Regions from separate parts of the Homo sapiens genome. Here region 1 is linked to region 2. The links are contacts of gene promoters, found by promoter capture Hi-C in blood cells and fetal thymus (Javierre and others, 2016). All regions are on one chromosome and are shown on one strand. The core of a region is centred on a gene start or on the middle of the fragment in contact, and the rest is flanking DNA. Distances in the headings are between cores, read along the strand shown. Region 1 has its middle 27 kb from the start of RAB39A. Region 2 holds the start of ELMOD1 (ELMO domain containing 1).

The links. The method cuts DNA at HindIII sites, captures the fragments that hold promoters and counts their contacts. A CHiCAGO score of 5 or more calls a contact.
Region 1: a contact is called between a fragment that was not itself captured here and the fragment with the promoter of ELMOD1 in region 2, in 1 of 17 cell types (endothelial precursors). The highest score is 5.9, in endothelial precursors.

Annotation. Positions count from the first base shown.
Region 1 is chr11:107,899,649-107,903,884 of GRCh38, reverse strand. No RefSeq gene overlaps it. Among named protein-coding and RNA genes, the nearest start is that of RAB39A, 27 kb to the left of the region's middle. The HindIII fragment of the contact is 1,272 bases long and covers 1,408-2,679 here.
Region 2 is chr11:107,589,147-107,593,396 of GRCh38, reverse strand. ELMOD1 (ELMO domain containing 1) reads right to left here and starts at 2,250. Exons shown (of 12, transcript NM_018712.4): 1 at 1,988-2,250. RefSeq lists an enhancer at 1,748-1,807 and silencers at 2,058-2,197, 2,258-2,367. The HindIII fragment of the contact is 4,180 bases long and covers 1-3,637 here.

The DNA of each region.
Region 1 (4,236 bases), core at 794-3,293, 310 kb before region 2:
GCCAAGGCTACCAAATTACGAGGTTAAGAGATGGAGACCATCCTGGCCAACATAGTGAAACCCCATCTCTACTAAAAATACAAAAATTAGCTGGGTATGGTGGCGTGCACCTGTAGTCCCAGCTACTCAGGAGCCTGAGGCAGCAGAAACGCTTGAACCTGGGAGGCGGAGGTTGCAGTGAATCGAGATTGCGCCACTGCACTCCAGCAGCCTGGTGACAGAGCGAAACTCCGTCTCAAAAAAAAAAAAAAAAAAAAAAAGAGCTGGGTGTGGTAGAGAGAGCCTGTAGTCCTATCTACTTGGGAGGATGAGGCAGGAGAATCGCTTGAACCTCGGAAGTGGAGGTTGCAGTGAGCCAAGATCCTGCCACTGCACTCCAGCCCAGGCAACAATGCGAGACTCCATCTTGAAAAAAAAAAAGAAAAGAAAAAAAAGAAAATATCTCCTTCTTGGCCTAGCGGTGGCTCACGCCTGTAATCCCAGCACTTTAGGAGCCTGAGGCGGGTGGATGACGAGGTCAGGAGATTGAGACAATCCTGGCTAACACAGTGAAACCCCATCTGTACTAAAAATACATTAAAAAAAAAAAATTAGCTGAGTATGGTGGCATGTGCCCGTAGTCCCAGCTACTTGAGAGGCTGAGGCAGGAGAATCACTTGAACCTGGGAGGCGGAGGCTGCAGTGAGCTGAGATCATGCCATTGCACTCCAGCCTGGGCGACAGAGAGAGACTCCATCTCAAAAAAAAAAAAAAAGAAAGAAAGAAAAAAAAGAAAAAAAGAAAATATCTCCTACTTTCTTAATAAACTTTCCGTTTGAGGCTGGGCGCGGTGGCTCACACCTGTAATCCCAGCACTTTGGGAGACCGAGGTGGGCAAATCACGAGGTCAGGAGATCGAGACCATCCTGGCTAACATGGTGAAACCCCGTCTCTACTAAAAATACAAAAAAATTAGCCGGGCGTGGTGGCGGGTGCCTGTAGTCCCAGCTACTCGGGTGGCTGAGGCAGGATAATGGTGTGAACCCGGGAGGTGGAGCTTGCAGTGAGCCGAGATCGTGCCACTGCACTCCAGCCTGGGCGACAGAGCGAGACTCCGTCTCAAAAAAATATAAAAAATAAAAAATAAACTTTCAGTTTGGTGTACCACATTCTCCAATAGTTTCCCACCAAAAGGATACATAGCAAGTCATTTTCTGAGAACTTCTGTGCTCAAAAAAGTCTTTATTTTACTCTTATATTAACACTTTTCCTGGCTATAGTGTTATGATTGAAAAATAAGTTTTCATCTGAATTTTGAAGACATCCTTGTATTGTCTCCTAGATTCCCATGTTGTGATTGAAAATTTCATTGCCATTCTCATTCTTACATGTTTGTGATCTACTTGCTTTTTTTCCTCTCTGGAAGCTTTTAGGATCCTTTTAAAAATTTTCACAAAATTTTACAATGTGTGCCTTTCTTTTTAATTGTGGGCTCTTTTATCACGGAGACTCTCACTTTTAAATTCTGGGAAGTTTTGTATTGTTGTTTCTTTGAGAATTTCCTTTTATTTATTTATTTTTTTGTTCTTCTTCTTGTGACAGGGTCTCACTCTGTTGCCCAGGCTGGAGTGCAGTGGTGTGATTATAGCTTACTGCAGCCTCAATCTCCTGGGCTCAAGCAATCCTTCCAACTCAGCCTCCTGAGTAGCTGGAATCACAGGTGTGCACCACCACACCTGGGTAATTTTTTTTTTTTTTTTTGTAGAGATGGGGTTTCTACATGTTGCCCAGACTGGTCTTGAACTCCTGGGCTCAAGTGATCCTCTTGCCTCAGCCTCCCAAAGTGCTGGGATTACATGTGTGAGCCACCGTGACTGGACCCATTTCTTATCCTTTTTCTTTTTTTTTTTTTTTTGAGACGGAGTCTGGCTCTGTCGCCTAGGCTGGAGTGCAATGGCGCGATCTTAGCTTACTGCAACCTCCGCCTCCTAGGTTCAAGCAATTCTGCCTCAGCCTCCTGAGTAGCTGGGATTACAGGTGCCCGCTACTACGCCCGGCCAATTTTTGTATTTTTAGTAGAGACGGGGTTTCACCATGTTAGTCAGGCTGGTCTCAAACTCCTGACCTCAGGTGATCCACCGGCCTCGGCCTCCCTAAGTGCTGGGATTACAGGCATGAGCCACCACACCTGGCCCCATTTCTTATTATTGTCTCTAAATGCCTAAAAGTTGAATGTAATATTTTTTGGATATATATATATTCTAATTTTCTTATTATCTCCTATTTTCTTTTTTTAAACAGAACTACTTTATTAATCTTAGAAATCAGTAATTCCAAGGGGTACCTTAACCCTGGCTCATGTTGTCAGCAGTACACTGACTTATCTCTTCTCTCTGGGAAACCTGTGATGAATGCTCTTTCTCCTCCACAGACCTTCCAAAAAGAAAAGAGCAACTTTGGTAGATGATTATGTTGTATCTCCCATTTTCTGTCTCTTCGTGTTCTTGTTTTACTTTTTGATAGAGCTTCTCAACTTTATCTTCCAATCTTTCAGTTGAATTTTTAATTTTTGCTGTCATCATTTAATTTCCAAGAGTTTGTGGTTTTTTGTTTTGTTTTGTTTTGTTTTTAATAGGGTCTGGGTCTGTCACCCAGGCAGGAGTTCAGTGGTACCATCACAGCTCTCTGCAGCTTCAAGCTTTTGGGCTTAAATGATCCACCCACCTCAGCCTCCCAGCGTAGCTGGGACTGCAGGTGTGTGCCAACATGCCTGGCTGATCTATTATTATTATTGTTTTAGAGATGGGTCTTTCTATGTTGCCCTGGCTGGTCTTTAACTCCTGGGCTCAAGCAATCTTCCCACTTTGGTCTCACAAAGTGCTGGGATTACAGATGTAAAACACCACACCCAGCCAGTTTTTTGTTGTTTTTGTTGTTGCTCTCTGATTATTTTCTTTGTACACTGTGCTCTTCTTGTTTCATGATATTAATTATTATCTTCGAAGTTTTCCTTTAGTCCCTGCTTAGTCTATGTTTGCTCTGAGTTCATTTTGTTCTCTCTGGTGGGTTGTTTTGGCTTCCGACTTTCCACAGGAGGCTTCAGCTTCCTCATTTCCACTGTCAGTTGCCATGTGTTTGATTACTTGTCTCTTCCAAAATGTGGTTGACATCCTTGTCTACTGTTGTCTTTTCTTCTGTTGTCTTTGTGGGTTTAAGTCTCTTTTGTTGTTGTTGTTGTTAATTTGTTTACTATTACTCACTGGGATTTTGGAAAGGAACAAATATAAACACATCTGCTCAGTACAATATGTTTCAAAATGACTTATTTGATGTGTGATGAACTAAGATCTAAGGGAGTGAGGTGAATTGCCCAAGCACCAAACTCTAGTGTGTGGCAAAACCAAGCTAGTACTTAGTGCTTCTGTTTTCAAGTTCAGGGTTATTATTATCAATTTCTGCTTTCCCACTCCTCCCTTTCTACCACTAGCGCTTATAACTATCCAGTAGTCTTCCTATGTATTATTTATTTGCTCATTTCCCCACCCCATCTTCCATGCTATATATATGTAGTACGGGGACAGTGTCTGACACAGAGTAAGCACTCAGAACTTAATGATTGAATGAATGAATGAAAAGGTAAGTGGCCTGTACCTTAGATTTCCCCTCACTTAGGATTTTGCTTTTGAGAAAAACACCTTCTCCAAATGATGACTGGTGGAAGGCATACAGACATTTGACTTGTGGTTTTGGAAGAATATGCCTAATCTTCTTAATTGAAAAGCAGAAAACAGGGTGATTAACGGTATGAAATTAAATATATGCACCTATTATATACCCACAAAAATAAGAAAAAAAGAATATGAGATTTGAAGACAGAGGTAGGTTTTAGTACTTGGGTTCAAATCCCAGTTACCTCACTTACAATTTGTGCAACCTCTTTCTCCTTTTCAAGTGTAAAAAGGTAAAGTATCTGATTTTTAAAGCCCTAGATCAGTGCATTCTATTTCTGTCTTTTCCCTTCTCATAATTATTCTCCCCTTTTGGAGTTCTGTGGTGTCTGTTTTTAAAGAAAGGAGGTGGCTGGGCATGGTGGCTCATGCCTGTAATCCCAACACTTTGGGAGGCCAAGGTAAATGGATCACTTGAGGTCAGGAGTTTGAGACCAGCCTGGCCAACATGTCAAAACCCTGTCTCTGTTAATACTACAAAATTAGCTGGGTGTGATGGTGCATGCCTGTAATCCCAGCTACTCGGAAG
Region 2 (4,250 bases), core at 1,001-3,500:
ATCGAAGATTTTACAAAGAATACTGTAATTTTGCTTAAGATCTCTTGGAAAGCTAACATTTATAGAGTTATTATCATGCCTCAGTTAAGTCCTGGCTGCAAGTATTAATTTTTGAAATTTTCATATTTTCAATTAAATCAGCAGAATGCAAAAAGAGAAATAAACAAATCTTTGATTTGGAGATTTATTTTCTTCATTAATCAAGCACAGCAATACATAGTATCCTTACTAACAGCCTTGCAGAAGCAGCCTGGCAGGCGGAGGTGGAGCCTGTGATGTAACTGCGGTAGGTCTTTGTTGGAAAAGCCTTCCCTAAATGTAAAACATCTGTAAATTGAAGCACTTCAGCTTCACTGTGCATGGGCTGGCAAGATTAAAGAGTTGCTTCTTTCAGCATCCTGTACTGGAGGCTTAAAATTTTGTTCCACAGAGGAATTCCTTATAGGTCTTTACGAAGATTACGTATCTATCTCACCAAAGCTGGGAGAAAAGCAGGCTTTTTCTGCAAAAGAGAACCATTTCGAGTACTGATTGCTGTGTGTGCTGGTTTACTGGTAAATGGTGGTGATGCAATGGAAGTTATAACCCAAAGTGTAGGAAGACGCCCTACAACCTGTTCCAGTCCTCAACGTTCCCTACGTTAATGGGTTCTTCTTTCAGTGTTCTTGACAGTGATGTCTTACAGAGAAGACATTTATTTCTTCTTCCTATGAAAAAGATTAAGATGAGAGAAATACCTCCCAATGTAGATACAAGAGTGTGCCTTTGGCAAAATACCAACTAAACTGACCCCCGAGAAAACTTCTGGGGGAGGGAATGACTAAGTCTGCTGTAACTACGTGTTGTCATAATAGGTTAATGAATTAAGACATTTATCCCAATACAAGCATACTACCTGCTTTCCACCATATTGGCAGCACCAGTTAAGGACGGTTGTCAAGCCACCGGCACAAAACGTATACATTGCAGAGATGCAGAACAATGCCTGGATGCCTGCCCAAAATTGGTCTCTCCAAATGACAGACTCAATTGATAGTACCAATCTACGGCCCACTGGGGGTTAGCAGCGTATTTTCCTAGGTGGTGGGGGAAAGGGATGAAATGTGGAAAGCTCAGGGCACTGTGCAGAGCAGAAAGGCTGACAACATATTCATTAAACTTGATCTGAAGCAAGTGAGCCCGTGAGGTCGTTCCTGAAATATTCATAAGATGTGTTACCGAACTCGCCGCTTAGAGGTTGAGCATAAACACTGAGTCAGAACAGCCCGTACCCACACTTGGAAAACAAAAAAAAGCACCCACAACAGCTCACCCCACCACCACACTCCACTGCTCTGCTTTTAACAGCCCCGTCAGCTGTCAGCTGTCACTCCCCACTCGGCTGTCCAATTCTACCTGCCCGGGAAAGAGATGCTCCAATATTGAAGTGCGGAGTTTCCCAGCAGTTGGAGGAGGCGCAGCTCAACAGCCCAGCCGACCGCTCCTCCCAGCTCGCTGCGCGGAGGACCCCACAGTCCGGCGGCCCCGCAGCCCGGCTGCCTAGCTCCTCCCTGGAGACCGAAGCCCACAAGGCAAGGGGTTCCCAGGGACCCAGACCAGCCCCTCGCCCCAGCCAGGCCGCCCTTGTCCCGCCTTCCATTTTGGCTCTGTCTGGGATCCCTTCCCCGAGCCCTCGGCGTTAGGTCGCTAGGCGACCTACGCCCGGGCCGAGATGCAAACAGCCTCTCGCGCCGACCTGCAGCCTCTCGGGTGTTAATTGGGAGGACAGGATAGAAGGGGAAATCACTGTCCTGGGTGACCCCGGAGCCCCTGCACCAAGGCAGAGTGCACTTTCATTCCCGTTCCCTCTCTGCCCCCGATGCTTAGCATTTCTGCTGCCTCCCAGGCACAGCGCAGCTTGCGTGATGCCTCGCGTCCTCGCCGCACCTCTCTCCTCCCCAAGGGCATTCGCCCCTACTCCCTAGGCTCCTCTGGGGTCGCCAATCACCTGGACTCTGGCGGCGGTAGGCTCAGCAGCTCCCGGCGCGCGGCGGCGTGGTCTTCATCTCCGCCTTCCCCAGGCGCTCCGGCTACGCGCTCCGCGGCGGCGAGCGACGCGCTCGGTCCCGGGCGCCGAGGCTGGACAGGGGCGGCCGCGGCTGCCGCACTGGCTGCGGGCGCGGAAGGGGCGGGGGCGGGGCAGGAATCTGGGTCGCGTGGAGCGGAGCAAGCCGGGATGCACCCGGGGCGGCTGGCGGCGAGGAGGCGACCGAGAGCAGCGGGGGAGGGCGTGCAGAGGCTTCCCTGGGAGCACGAAGCGGGCGGCTACTGAGCATGCCCAGTCCGGGAGCCGGGGGCGCGGGCGCGGTGCTGGGGGAGAGAGCGCGGCACCCAGTGCCGGAATCTGGGGGGAAAGGGTTAAATCTGCGGACCCCGCTGCTGTGGGAGGTGGCTGGTGTGGCCCAGTTTAATTGCTCCCGGGTGGCCTCCCTGGAGGAGCCCACGACAGGAAGATGGTGAACCTGAGATGACCTGTCAATGGGATTCCCAGACAGTCCGGGCAAGGTGTGTTCCCCGCCCTCTCCCTGGATAATTGTCCAGAAGTCAAACTTTGTTTTAGTTCAGCTCCAACCTCCCTCGTCTCACCGAGCACCCAGTGACTCTTCCAATCCTGATCCCCACCCTTCACCTGCCTTCCCGGGACTGCAGAACCCTATCCCTCACCCCAACCGGCAGCCCCCGCCTTTCCCACTCCTGGCCCAGTCGGGTCAGATTCTCAAAGAGCCAGCTCTTTAATTAGGTGTAATTGAGAGATCGTGTCAATCCTGCGAGGTCCATATCTGCATTTCAACAAGGGCTTTAGAAGCAATACCGTAACCCCGGGGTTAATTATAACAGGATGAATTATAGACACCCTCGTCCGGGGCTGTTTGGGGGAACATTGCTTCGTGGGGCCCCAGAAGCCACTTCATACAGACAGAGAGAGAGAGAGAGAGAGAGAGAGAGAGAGAGAGAGAGAGAGAGAGAGAGAGAGAGAGAGAGAGAGAGAGAGAGAGAGAGAGAGAGAGAGAGAGAGAGAGAGAGAAACCTGTGCCTTCCGGATTGCATTTCATGTTTGATGAAGAACGTTTTCTCCATAGCTAATCAAAAAAGTCTCTTTAATGAGGCCGCATGGGGTTGGGGAAAGACCAAATGAGCTTCGAGGTCGGCGCTTATTTTAGTTTCATTCATCACTCCAAGCCGGTTACCTGACCGTCTTGTGCCTCTGTTTCCTCACCTGTAAAACAAAGGGTGGTTAATACCTACCTCTGCGGGCTGTTGTGAGGATTACTTGGGCAGCTGGCGGCGCGGAGCAGCCTGGATACCAAAGCATCTGCCTGTCCCGCAGTGGATGTTCCCTGAATAAAAGTCTCTGCAGGTTCCACCTCCACTATTCTGTGTTTATGAAAAGTTGGGTTAGTGATAATCCTTAAATGCTGAACATTTATCTTATTTCCTCTTCACATTAAATGACCTTAAAGCCTTGACCTTTCTGATTTTTTTAATCATTGTTAAAAGCATTAGCCACTATTTACTTTTCTTTCTTTTCAGGGAGATATGAAGGATACCTCCCTGAATAAACGTCTTGGAAAAAGATAGACCTTTGGAGGGAAAAGCTTCTCGGGAGAGATTCATTAGGGATAGATTAATCCACCTGACAAAAGAATTTTACTCCATAGTCTTTTAAACGTAATTTGCTTGCATCTCCCTGTGGTCCTTGTTTCACAACTATTGCATGAAGTAATGTATGCCTGTATGGAAGGAAATTTACTTCCCATGCATACTGTTGACTATTTAAGTATCAGAATTCAAAAGATAAACTTTTTATTATCCCCCAAACATACTATTTTTTTAATAACACATTGCTTTATTCATGGTGTTCCACCCTTTCTGAAATACCATTCTCAAAAAAAAAAAAAAAAAAAAAGAAATACCATTCTCTCTCATTCTATTTCATGAAGTGCTACTCACTCTTCAAGCTCAAATGTCACCTTCTCTCTGAAGCCTACCCTGAACCTCAAGACAGAGTGAATGCTGTGCTCTCATAGCACCAGTGCATACTGCTATCACAGTACTCATCACAGCCTATCACTGTGGTTCAAGCAATGTAAAACTACTTACTGAGCAACTGTTATTTGCAGGCGCCATTCTACATGTTAGGAAAATAAGAACAAACAAGACAAAGTTCCTGCCCTCATGGAACTTACAGTCTAGTTGAAAAAGACAGAAAA